2 separate regions of the Homo sapiens genome follow, and region 2 is linked to region 1. The links are contacts of gene promoters, found by promoter capture Hi-C in blood cells and fetal thymus (Javierre and others, 2016). All regions are on one chromosome and are shown on one strand. The core of a region is centred on a gene start or on the middle of the fragment in contact, and the rest is flanking DNA. Distances in the headings are between cores, read along the strand shown.

Region 1 (6,017 bases), core at 3,484-5,983:
TCCAAGAAGCCCTGCAAGGCTCCCGTGAGGCCCCAGTTGTTTTCGGAGAGCTCAATTCCAAAAGGCTGGGGGAGACGGACAGAGCTCCATGCCTCGCCCACCCAACAGGAGCATCTCCCACGGGCTCCACCCTTCCCACTCTTTCCACAGTTGGCTGCTTAGATGGCACCTGACTGCAGCTTGCTCCAGACTCAAAGACAGAGCCTGTAACTCTCTAAGAGCAGAGGAATGTTCACGAGCACCCTAAGAGGATAGCAGGGAAGGAGAATCCAGAAAACAGAGACAGAAGGGTGGGACAGGTGGCAGGAGATGTATAGCCTTCTAAATAGAAATCAATCGCATTAACAAAAAATCAGTCCACCACCGGCCACCTCTTTCAAACGCTGCTGATATCAGGAAATAAAAATGACACTACCCTCCTAAAGTCGGCTTTGGCAATGAGTTGCAAAATACTTTGACCTGGGAAATCACCCTGAGGAAATAATCCCAGACGAATTTTAAAAAGTTTATGTAAATATTTTCATGGAAGTATTATTTGTAATGAGGTAAAATTTTAAACAATAATCAACAACGGATAATTGGTAACTAAATTACCATAAAGCTATAGAAAGGAATACCTTAAAGCTTGTAAAAATATACTCTAAAAGAATGAAATCTAAAATATTATTTCACCACATGAGGCAAAGTTGATCAAATAATGAGCTTTCAAAGTACGTTGTAAGCTCTGAAGCCAAAGTGACCTTTTAAAGGAAAAAAAGTGTAGCCTGTAAGGAACACAGGGCAATAAGTAAATTCTTGTAGATTATCTGGACAAAATGCAGAAGGCAAATAGTAAAGGCAGAGGGGGGTAGGAAGAGAAACTAGCACAATTCTATTTTATATTCTCTGCATTGTTATTATGTTCGCTAGTGAGCATGTGACCATTGATTTTTTTTTTGTTATAATTTAAGTTCTGGGATACATGTGTAGAACGTACAGGTTTGTTACATAGGTATACATGTATCATGGTGGTTTGCTGCACCCATCAACCTGCCATCTACATTAGGTATTTCTAATGCTATCCCTCCCCTTGCCCCTCACCCCCCAACAAGCCCGGTGTGTGATGTTCCTTTCCCTGTGCCCATATGTTCTCAGTGTTCAACTCCCACTTACGAGTGAGAACATGCAGTGTTTGGTTTTCTGTTCCTGTGTTAGTTTGCTGAGAACGATGGTTTCCAGCTTCATCCATGTCCCTGCAAATGACATGAACTCATTCTTTTTTTATGGCTGCATAGAATTCCATGGTGTATATGTGCCACATTTTCTTTATCCAGTCTCTCATTGACGGGCATTTGGGTTGGTTCCAAGTCTTTGCTATTGTGAATAGTGCTTCACTAAACATATGTGTGCATGTGTCTTAATAGTAGAATGATTTATAATTCTCTGGGTATATACCCAGTAATGGGATTGCTGGGTCAAATGGTATTTCTTGTTCTAGATCCTTGAGGAATCGCCACACTGTCTTCCACAATGGTTGAACTAATTTACACTCCCACCAACTGTGTAAAAGTGTTCCTATTTCTCCACATCCTCTCCAGAATCTGTTGTTTTCTGACTTTTTAAAGATTGCCATTCTAAATGGCGTGAGATGGTATCTCGTTGTTGTTTTGATTTGCATTTCTCTAATGACCAATGATGATGAGGTTTTTTTCATATGTTTGTTGGCCGCATAAATGTCTTCTTTTGAAAATTGTCTGTTCATATACTTCACCCATTTTTTGATGGGGTTGTTTGTTTTTTTCTTCTAAATTTGTTTAAGTTTCTTGTAGATTCTGGATATTAGCCCATTGTCAGATGGATAGATTACAACAATTTTCTCTCATTCTCTAGGTTGCCTGTTCACTCTGATGATAGTTTCTTTTGCTGTGCAGAAGCTCTTTAGTTTAATTAGATCTTATTTGTCAGTTTTGGCTTTGTTGCAATTGCTTTTGGTTTTAGGTTTTAACATTTAAATAGTTAATCCACCTTGAGTTAGATTCTGTATAAGGTGTAAGGAAGGGTCCAGTTTCGGTTTTCTTCATATGGCTAGCCAGCTTTCCCAGCACCATTTATTAAATAGGGAATCCTTTCCCCATTGCTTGTTTTTGTCAGATGTGCCAAAGATCAGGTGGTTGTAGATGCGTGGTGTTATTTCTGAGGTCTCTGTTCTGTTCTATTGATCTATATATCTGTTTTGGTACCAGTACCATGCTTTTTTGGTTACTGTAGCCTTGTAGCATAGTTTGAAGTCAGGTAGGTAGTGTGTGACACCTCCAGCTTTGTTCTCTTTGCTATTTTGTAATTACTTCAGCCACCAAGAATGATTTGCAATAATAGTTTGAGTCATGCGCTACTTTAAACAAAATGTATGGCTACAATTAGTTATTTCAGAACCAACTTGTCTAATGGATACCTAGACAGGCAACAGTAAGTTGACCCCAGCAGTCACCAAGTGTCTTCTAGCTCTTCTGCTCCAGGTCAGAGGGAAACAGGCAACACTGTTGAGGAGGATCTTTTCTCTGGTGGCATAAAAGCTTGTTGTGGATGTCCAGACTCACACATTAGCCATTTATAATTAAGGAGCTAAAGTGCATAGAAGGTAGGGGAGGAGGGTGTGTGCTGTGTCCACTGGGCTAGAACTTCACTAAGAAGGGTTTGCCTCTTCCCCTTCAGGTTCTTACCAAGCCAGATAAGTGGTTGTCATGGAGACGATACGTTGTGACAACAACTGTGGTGCCAGGTGTTCAGAGCAGCACACTGGCACCCCACTCCCAGAGAGGATGCTGAAGCAGATTGAATCACTTTAGGAGAAAAGCACACTTAGGCACGAAGCCCTGGCTTTTCTTCTTCTTTCTTCTGTGTCTATAATGTGTTTTATCTTAAATAAAACTTCATAAATGCCATAAACTATTGTGGAAATCTCCTGAGTCCCTCTGGAATTTTCATGGTTTTAGGGAACTAGAATTTTTTTTTTTTTTTTTACAAAAATCTTACTTAAAAAGGTGAATTAGAATTAACCTTTAAAATTGTAAGAATTAACTTTTAGTATTGTAAGCAAAACCCTAAAAAGGACAAGGACAACCACAAGAGGATAGTCTGTAAATGGACAGATAATTAACTTTCTCTTGTAAATTCACTGTGACAATTTTTTTTAACATTTTATATCATTTGCACCTAGCGCCCCCTGGTGGTTCTCAAAAAGGTACTATGGTGAGCGTCAATCTGACACCGGTCACCTTATATACTATTTGTGTACTCATTTGGCAGGGAATAATTTCAAAAGTTAATGCATATATTAAGTGCTTGCCTTTATGTTATTTTATCAAATTGAAATAACTATACTGAGAAATTCTGAATTGTTAACTTTAATTTTCTAGATCTTCTGGAAATACATTGAGAGAATGAAACCTAGTTCTTCCTATAAAAGTCAATTAATATTAACATTTGATACGGCAATTTATTGTTGGTAACAATGCAAAATAATATTTATTAACTGTCATTGGATGGGTTCAGGTTAAAAAACCACCTAGCAACCAGTGCGACACACCTGCGTTCTCATTTACCTGATGCAGTATGAAGACACAGAGATCCCTTTCCATAAGACAGCAAATTTCCAAATGTCACTTGTAAGTGGCAGAAGTAAAAGCATGCATTGAAAAAGAATAAGACTTGCCCTCATGTCAAATTGTGGCCCAGGATATGAACGTTGCTGATGGTGTCACAATCAGCTGATTAGCCATTTCAGGCACTATTATGTTTGAAGTACGCCCTGATTGTTGGAGCATTAACTTTGGTATTGAGATGCTAAGCGCTTCTTTTATCTCCTTCACTGAGAATAAGCAACGATAGAGGAATATTTTAATCTATAAAGGAGGAGAAGGAGGAAAGGTTGGGGACGGGAAGGAGGATCCGAGGATGTAGAAGGGGACGGAAAAGAAAGTAATTTGCTCTTTATGACGGCTTTGATGCATACATTAATAGCTTTAGATTCTTCCTAAGCTCTTTAGAATAAAATAAAATGAACTTCCTCACCTTTTTCCTAATGTTATATCAATAACTCTGGCAAACCGTTTTGCCAGGGAATAAAATGTAAATATTGGTGGAAATCCACTCATCGGGGCTCGCTCATACAGTTAAAAAAAAAAAAAGTTCACAACAGCATCTTAAAAGTAGGGTTCCACAGAGTCGTGAACATTCACAGCACCTAATAAACCAGCGGCACGGAGATTACGAGCTGCTAAATGGCAAGGATTAGAAGCCCCCACCTCACGGACTTACCGCCCTTTTCCATCCAGCCCGGCCGCTCCGCGGGTGGAGGAGGACGCGGGACGCTCGGGCTCCCAGGCGCTGCCGCTGCGGGTCCCATGGCGCACGCAGGTGCCTGCGGAAAACAGCGGCGACATCGCGGTGAGACGGCGGGGTCCGCGGGAGAGGAGCCGCGGGGGACTCGCCTCCAGCTGTCCGGACCCGCGGTTTCCGCGCTGGTGGGAGCGCCCGGGACTCACCTGCTCGGCCACCTGCGCCAACAGCATCCACAGCGCCGCCAAGCCCCGCCATCCGCGCGCGCGGGGCTTCATCCAGGAGCGCTCCGAGGGGCTAGGGGCCACCGGAGGGTCCCCGGCCGGCAGCGTGCGAGCGGGCAGGGAGGACCCGACCCAGGCAGAGCGCGGGAGGATTCCCCACAGCGACTCCGCCGCCGCGCCGGGGTTATTACTGAAGCTCCGTGCGGCGCGGGGGGCGGAGTGGCAGCCGCGGCGGCGGGGGCGGCGGGAGCGGTGGGAGAGCGCGGGGCGGGCAGGGGAGAGAGGAGGGGAGGAGGTGAGGGCGGGGGGGTCAGAGGACCGAGGAGGGGAGAGTGCAGGGACAAAGAGCAGAGGGGAGGAGGCGAGGTCAGCGGGGCGCTGAGGCGGAGGCGAGCGGGGAGCAGAGGGAAGGCGGGAGACAGCGGGCAGCGCCAGAGGAGGAGGACGCGGGAAGATGGAGCTGCCCACGGCCTGCAGTCCGTGCCTCTCTGCCCGCGCGGGGACCACACAGTTGGAGAGGCTGCCGGGCACCGGCGCGGGCGATGCTCAGCATGGACCTCCGGCCGGTGCGCGCTCCTGCCCTGCCTTGGGGCTGGGGACTCGGCGGGACTCCAGCTACTGCAGTGGCTCCGCGGGCTCCCACCTCCGGGCCGCACCGGCGCCGCCAGAGGCCGGGACACCTGCAGCCCGCGGAGTGCGGTCTGGCCGCGCCTCTGTGCCCGGGCACAGCTGTGGGGACACTGGGTGCGGAAAACCGGGCGCCAGGACGTGGGAGAGCCGCGGACCTGCCTTTAAAGGCGCGTGCCTCGCTCTGGAGTTTGCGGAGCGATCGGAGACGGGGAGGCTGAGGAGGAAACTCTTCCCCCGCGCCATTTGCCCCGAGATGTGGCGGCGCTCCTGGCCCCGCGGTCACGGCCACCCTCAACTGGCCAGGCCGCGGAGGCCGGTGACTGGCTGCTGGGTGCAATCCCTAGGGAGGTCTCAGGGCTGCGGATGGGCCTGGGTCTCGGCCGCCACGGGGGTCGATCGGGCTACTGTGTGGACAGGGTGGCCAAGGAGGCAGCAGGTGTGCGGTCAACAGCCTGGCCAGAATTCTGCTGTAGCTGGATGGGGTGTGTGAGCGCGCGGGTGTACATGTGCCTGGGTGTGCGCGGGTGTACATCCACACCTGACTGCGTGTGCGCGAGTACACGCTGTGAGCCCATAGTGTGTCTGGAATTGGTGGGTTCTTGGTCTCACTGACTTCAAGAATGAAGCCGCATACCCTCGCGGTGAGTGGGTACAGCTCTTAAGGTGGTGCGTCTGGAGTTTGTTACTTCTGATGTTCAGATGTGTTCGGAGTTTCTTCCTTCTGGTGGGTTCGTGGTCTCGCTGGCTCAGGATTGAAGCTGCAGACCTAGGCGGTGAGTGTTACAGCTCTTAAGGCAGAGCCTCTGGAGTTGTTCGTTCTTCCCGGTGGGCTCGTGGTCTCGCTGG
Region 2 (6,870 bases), core at 1-2,500, 280 kb before region 1:
TGGAACACGCTTCCTTCTAGCTCTAGGTGTAGAAATCCTACCTGCTCTTCCAGGCTCCGGGGTTTACCTCCACAACCCCAAGGATCTGCCACCTAAGGGGCAAAAAATCCCCTTAGCACGGAGTAATTTTTAGTAACATCACATTTTGAGTTGGATGATGGTGGTTTTTATGTCTTACAGATGAGTCTTCCCTTTAAATGCTGCAAAGTGCTGCATAGTAGATGTTAAATGAAAGTCAGAAAGAATCAAATGTGCTGCAAATAATTGAAGGTAAGAAACAACAAATATTTCCCTTCAAAAATGTTAATAAAAGTGTATTTTCTCCTACCTTTCTCAAAGCCAGTTCTCAAGACATCTAATGAAAACGAGTCTTGTTTACGTAATGCAGGGATAGGCAGACTCTGAAGAGCCACATGGTAAATATTTAAGCTTTGTAGGTCACACAGGTCTGTGCCACCTATTTGTCACCTTCTGTTTATTTAAGAAACTTCAAAATGTGAAAGTCATTCTTAACATGCAGGGTGTAAAAAAACAGGTGTGATTATTGGTCATAATGAAAATGTAGTAGGCCACTAATTGAGGAATGGTCAGAATTACATTTTTTCTCTTTCCTGCATGATGGGCCACACCTGTTTTTTCATCACGATGGAAACAAACAAGCAAGTGTGTATACTGCAAGTGGTGAACTATGGCTTTGGAACCACACATCTGTCTTTAAATTCTTACGCAAATGACCTATTTGTGCTGGTGTTTCCTTACAGAGGACCAACGGTAATTTAAGTAAAAAGTGACAAGGATGGGACCCACTCTATAGGATTCACTAGACAAATAGTTATTAATAATTTATTGATGGTGGTATCCATTTTGGAAAGGAGATAAATATATCTTCAACTGACTCATAGGAAAAAGATGGTTTGCTTTTTCTTTAAAAGCATTTTTCCTGTCAAACTTCCAAGATAAACTTGTTGTTTTTCTGCCAGAGAAGCCCTAAGACCCGGAGGAATGTCTGCATTCCAGTCTCTGGTCTTGGGATTCCCTGTGCCTGTCGAATCCAGCCAGCTGTTCAGAGGATCCAACTCAAAAAGTCTCACTTCTCACCCCACACGCTCATTACCTCTCAGATACTTGGTGTCTGCTTAAAACGAAAGCTCTGGAATTAGCATCATTGAGAGGTAACTGTTGATTTAGTTTATTAACATATACTTCCACTGAAATGGCTAATAGATATGGTCTAGAAACCAAGGAGAACTCAAAATGGAAAGCTGTCTATTCTTTGGAAGTTCAAGGCTGTGCTTTTAATTGATGCATTTAACTGTAAGAAAAATGAACTATATGTTCATTTGTTTCTTTTAATTGGAGAGATGTTTGATGGAATTGTTTGTGACTAACAGTGTGTTATTCAATGATATGACCCCCTGATTATTAGGTATTAATTTCCAGACCTGTGATGTAATGCTACCATATGCCCACAAGATGTCTGTCTTTCCCTGTGTGTTTTCCACATAAATAGAATTTCCGACGGTATTAGGACTTAACCGAACCTTCTTGCTGAGGGGAAAGGCCATCCTCTGGGGCATCCTAGGGTGGAAGGCGTCTTGTGGGAACCACTTTGCTATCCGCCCACACACGTTCCACCAGGCTTAGTCCTAAGCTGTCTTTGCTCCAGTTTTTCTCAACACTCAGGGTTATAGTGGTGGGGTTTCGACTTGTCCTCAGACATCAGCAATTTGCTCACAGCCTCAGCTCTTACCCTCAAAGTGATTTGAAGCCAGAGAGTAAACATGTTGCTTCTTCCTGAAACACTGATGTTACTTAGAAACCGGACAAATAAAATTTAGTTTTGAAACAATTAGTTTGAAATAGAAAGCAAAACTGATATGATTATTAAGCAAAATTTTCTTCAACCTGAGAAAGCTGATTGAGAAAAGTAAAAAAAAAAAAAGCAACATTTGAAAGGACTTTCACAACTCTCACATTGCAGTCGCCCTCTGTAAAGGAGGACAAGCCCACTCTGCCTTGCGGGTTTGTGAACACCTGGCGGCTGTAAGAGTTGGTCACACGAGAAGCTTCTTGTAGCTTCCGGGATCGGAGGAAGAAGGCGGCAGGTGCTCAGAGGTGACAGGTGTTGAGGAGGGGATTCTCTGTAGAGCAGCTGGCAAGGGCATGTCCCACCTAACTCTGAGGAGGGATAGGAAAGGGAGGGACATGTTTCCCCTTCACCTGAGGCCAGTGGGGGGTCTCCTTGGTTTCTAGACCACATCTAGCAGCCATTTCAGTGGATGTATATGTTAATAAATTAAATCAACAGTTGCCTCTCGATGATGCTATATTCCAGAGCTTTGTTTTAATCAGTGCCCCCACGAAGTGAAGCACTCAGAGTCAGATGCTACATGCCCTAGAGTGGTTCCAAGGGAACCGTGGGACAGCTCCAGGAGATGGGTTGGAGGTGACTGAGCCGCATGCTCACCCGCACTGGGATGAGCAGGAGTTCTGCATACTGGATACGGTGGGCATTTCAGTGGGAGCTGCGAGGAAAGCGAGGCTGAGGCAAAGTGAGCAGCCAGAAATAAAACTTTGCTCTTCCATCCCCCATTCAAAGAACTGTAGCTGGATGTCCACAGCTGGAAAGTCCTCACTTTGAACTGTATCCACACAGCACCAGTGGCAGCCACTCACCAAAACTTGTTTCTATTCTGTCTAGTTATTCCCCAGCCTCCCTGCACCTGACATGTGATTAAGTTCTACCAGCCAAACATCAGCAAAAGGGGCCTGGCCCCTAGGGCCTTCCTGTGCTCTTTGTCACTTCCTGCTGACTGGAAGAGGGATGAATCCCAGGACCCTGAGCTGGTGGTTAAGTTACTGTCTCTCGGCCCCACACCTTCCCTTTTATACTCTGCCTTGTGACGTAGGGACTGGGGAGCCACGTGCCACCTCTCCTGCCAGAGTTCTGTTCAGCTGTGCCAACAGATATACACAAGGAAACCAGAAGATAAGAGGTAGGAGAGGGGCCTGTGCCTCCCATTCTGTCCTGTCCGACTCCTGGTCCTGCTAGCGTCTTGCTATCCTTGCTTTCGCACCTGGCAGTGGCAGTTCATGAACAGAGCGGCATACGAATTGGGTCTGCAGTTTCTCTGACACACGCAGAGCCAGCCTCATAGCATCCCCTCGGAGATACCAGCAAAGTTGGTTTCCCAGCTCCACAGAGCCCTGAGTCCAAGAGCAGAGGCCTCAGCACCAGCCCAGAAGGTCCCTTCTTCATATGTCTGAGTGTGATTTCTGGGTGGCAGCTCCTCCACATTTCTGAGTTTTGCTCACTCCTTCCTCCTTCTTTTATTCTCTCCAGCCCAAGGTGTCAGCTGCTTCTTGCGGTGGCTCCTCCTGTGATATTTTAGTGTTTTGCTTTTACCTTTTCTCTCTTAAAATAATCTGGGTGTAATGTGGGTCTCCTGGCTGAGCTCTGCCCCAGTCCTGTGCGGAAGATGCTCTTCCGTCCCAAGGAGCTCGCTGCAGGAGAGAAGCCCACCCCACCAGCCTGTTCTTTGTTCTTGGACTATGACTCAAGCACTTTGGGAAGCCAGGTTACAAAGACTGCATCTTTTTCTCCTGATCCCTTCTCCTACCCCAAGCTTGGAGGGGTCACAAACAAGCTGGTGAATAAGGAAAATGTTGGAACAGAGGAAAAGCCTGTCTTGCCCCATTCCCACCCACCCACACCCATCTTGCTAGCGTCTAAGAACGGCCACCAGCTCCATGGGTAAGAAGCTAAGTTGAAGACAGGAAATAAGTGACAGCACATCACACTGGACTGTGTTGTCTCCGAGTGACTGGAAAGGCTAGGGTGTGTGCCCAAGACTGCATCTGGGGTAAGAAGGAGCCCAGAGGACAAATCCCACAGACAGCAATGATTTAAAAACCAAGACATGGAGGAAGTGACTTTATGATCATCTTCTGCTCAGTACTGCCCTTGCTGAGGCATGTGCAGCCCCTTCTCCTCCTCCTCCTCCTCCCCCTCCTTCCCCCTCCCTCCCCGTCCTCCTTCCCCTCTCCCTCCTCCTCACCCTCCTCCTCCTCTTCCTCTTCATCCTCCTCCTCCTTCTGACTCACCTCCCAATGAATTCCTCAGTTGTTGTGTGTGCCCAGCTCTCATCCTTCACAGTGCACAGCTCCAATCAGCCCCTCTGCAATATTGGGCTTGGCGTGCAAGTGGCACCCCCTTCCATCCTAGGCAGTAAATCCAACCAGTTCTCTAAGGTCCATTCAAGTCCAGTTTCTATGGGAAATGTCCTTGATAGAGTTTTGAATATCAAACTTTTTTGGTTTTTTTTTTTGGTATCATTCTTGGTCCTTCCCTTTTTTTCCTTTGTCTCCTCGCCACATATAAGCAGCATGAGTTCTGTTGGTAAGATAGCTGTCTGCCTGTCCCACCACAGCCATCATGGTCGCTGCCATCCCTGGCAGCCGGTTCTGTCCTGGGTCCTGCGAGGAGCATCTCCCTGCAGCACGATGCCTGCATGTGCCCCTGTTCTCCCACTTGCTAGGACCGAAAACTGAGGAGTTTGTCTGACTCCTCTTTACTCCCACGCCCTGTCACGGGGTCAGCCAGCCATAGTCAGCATGTGTGTGACTCCCAGCACCTCTCACTGTGTGCATCATCCTCTCCAGTCCTTGTGCCCTGACATCCGTGCCAGTGGGCAGAACCCACTCTACTTACTGTCATGTCCCCAACACCCAGACCGTGTCTCCTAAACATCAGTTACCAAGAAATGATTGCTGAATCAGTAAGCTGAGTGAATTAATACATTAATATGTTAAACAGCTGATATCTGGGTAAAAGTATAATCCAGTGAGGTTAAAAAGCAAAAGCTGCAGCAATCATGCTCCTTGGTCTTTACCGAGATGAGTTGAAACTTAACATCACACACAATCCTGCACATGAGTTGAAACTTAACATCACACACAGTCCTGCACATGAATATTTAAGCAGCTTTATTCAGAATTGTCAAAACATGGAAGAAAGCAAGATGTTCCTTTAGTAGGTGAATGGATAAATCAACTGGGATGCATGCAGACTGAATTAGTCTGTTCTCACACTACTATAAAGAACTGCCCAAGACTGGGTAATTTATAAAGGAAAGAGGTGTAATTGACTCACAGTTCCACAGGGCTGGGGAGGCCTCAGGAAACTTACAATCATGGAGGAAGGGGGAAGCAAACATGCCCTTCACATGGCAGTAGGAAAGAGAAGTGTCAAACAAATACGGGAAAAGCCCCTTATAAAACCCTCAGATCGTGTGTGAACTCACTATCATGAGAATAGCAACATGGGGGTAATCACCCTCGTGATTCAATTACCTCCCGCTGGGTCTCTCCCACAACACATGGGGATTATGTGAGCTACAATTCAAGATGAGGTTTGGGTGGGGACACATCCAAACCATATCACAAACCATGGAATATTATACAGTGCTAAAAAATAAATGAGCTCTCAAGCCATGAAAAGGCATGGGGAAACCTTAAATGAACATTACTAAGGGAAAGAAGTCAACCTGAAAAGGCTACATGCTGTGTCCTTCCAACTATATGGCATTCTAGAAAAGGGAAATGATAGAGACATTTTTAAAAAAAAAAAAAAGTGGTTTCCTTGGTTTGAGATAGGGGAGGAAGGGATGAACAGGCAGAAGGATTTTTAGGGCAGTGAAAGAATTCTGTATATCATAGCGGTGGATACATGTGTTACATTTGTCAAAACTCCTAAAATGTCCAACACTGAGTGAACCCCAATGTAGACTATGAACTTTGGCGTGACACGTAACAATGTGTCAGTGTAAACTCACTGGTTATAACAAACGTACCACTATGAGTGTGGTGTTGATAGTGGAGGAGGCTGTGCATGCATGGGGGCAGGTGGTATATGAGAACTCTGTCCTTTTTGCTTGATTTTGCCGTGAAAGTAAAACTGCTCTAAAAAATAAAGTCTCTTTGGAGAAAAAAAGACAACAAAAACCAAGAGCAAACTTCCAGGCAGTGGGAGTAATGACAGGAAGTCTCCCTATCTGGAGTGAATGTGGCATGTTAAAGCATCAGAAGTCAGCTCAGGTAACCCAGACTATAGTGAACAAGGAGCCACTTGGTATTGATTTACTTAAGAGGAGGGATGGGGCACAGGCCAGATCATGTAGAGTCTTGTAAGCCAGGGTAGAAAAGTTTTAGATCTTTGAAGAGGTTAAAGAAATGGAGTGGCATAATCTGACTTTACTTTAAACATATTTCATACTGCCTCTCATGGGAGATGGACTGGGACAAGGCAGCAGAAGAAGCCAGGACACCAGGGACCAGGCTGTGATCCAGGACACAGAGAATGGAGGCATGGCTGCAGTCCTGGCAGTGGAGTTAGATGGAAATAGAAGGAGCGAGGATCCCAAAGTGTATTCCAAAGAGGCTGTACTACATCCTACCAGCAGTATATATGAGTGTCCAATTCCTCCCCTTCCTTGCCAACACTAGATATAATCAGTCTCTTAATTTTAGCCAATTTAATATGAGTGTGGTAGTAATTCCTCTTGTGTATTTCCTTAATGCACACTTCCTCAATTTGCTTTTCTTTTTAATTAATTAATTAATTTTATTTTACTTTAAGTTCCAGGATACATGTGCAGAACGTGCAGGTTTGTTACACAGGTATACTTGGGCCATGGTGGTTTTGCTGCACCTATCAACCCATCATCTAGGTTTTAAGCCCCACATGTATTAGGTATTTGTTCTAATGGTCTCTGTCCCCTTGCCCCCCATCCCCGACAGGCTGTGGTGTGTGTTGTTCCCCTCCCTGTGTACATATAGTCTCATTGTTCAACTCCCACTTAGGAATGAGAA

The links. Contacts are between HindIII fragments. The CHiCAGO score rates a contact against its expected background, and 5 or more counts as called.
Region 2: a fragment that was not itself captured here is called in contact with the fragment with the promoter of ADAMTS16 in region 1 in 16 of 17 cell types (megakaryocytes, M0 macrophages, endothelial precursors and 13 more); the score reaches 55.5 in megakaryocytes.

Annotation. Positions count from the first base shown.
Region 1 is chr5:5,139,046-5,145,062 of GRCh38, reverse strand. It overlaps ADAMTS16 (ADAM metallopeptidase with thrombospondin type 1 motif 16), which reads right to left and starts at 4,733. Exons shown (of 23, transcript NM_139056.4): 1 at 4,524-4,733; 2 at 4,297-4,399. The coding sequence starts at 4,595. ADAMTS16-DT (ADAMTS16 divergent transcript) reads left to right here and starts at 5,009. Exons shown (of 4, transcript NR_109915.1): 1 at 5,009-5,107. It overlaps ADAMTS16-AS1 (ADAMTS16 antisense RNA 1), which reads left to right. Exons shown (of 2, transcript NR_198969.1): 2 at 2,692-2,925. RefSeq lists an enhancer at 4,961-5,527. The HindIII fragment of the contact is 3,896 bases long and covers 2,555-6,017 here.
Region 2 is chr5:5,414,151-5,421,020 of GRCh38, reverse strand. It overlaps LOC101929200 (a long non-coding RNA gene), which reads left to right. Exons shown (of 6, transcript XR_001742583.3): 2 at 181-270. Among named protein-coding and RNA genes, the nearest start is that of ICE1, 5.1 kb to the left of the region's middle. RefSeq lists an enhancer at 1,669-1,738. The HindIII fragment of the contact is 1,637 bases long and covers 432-2,068 here.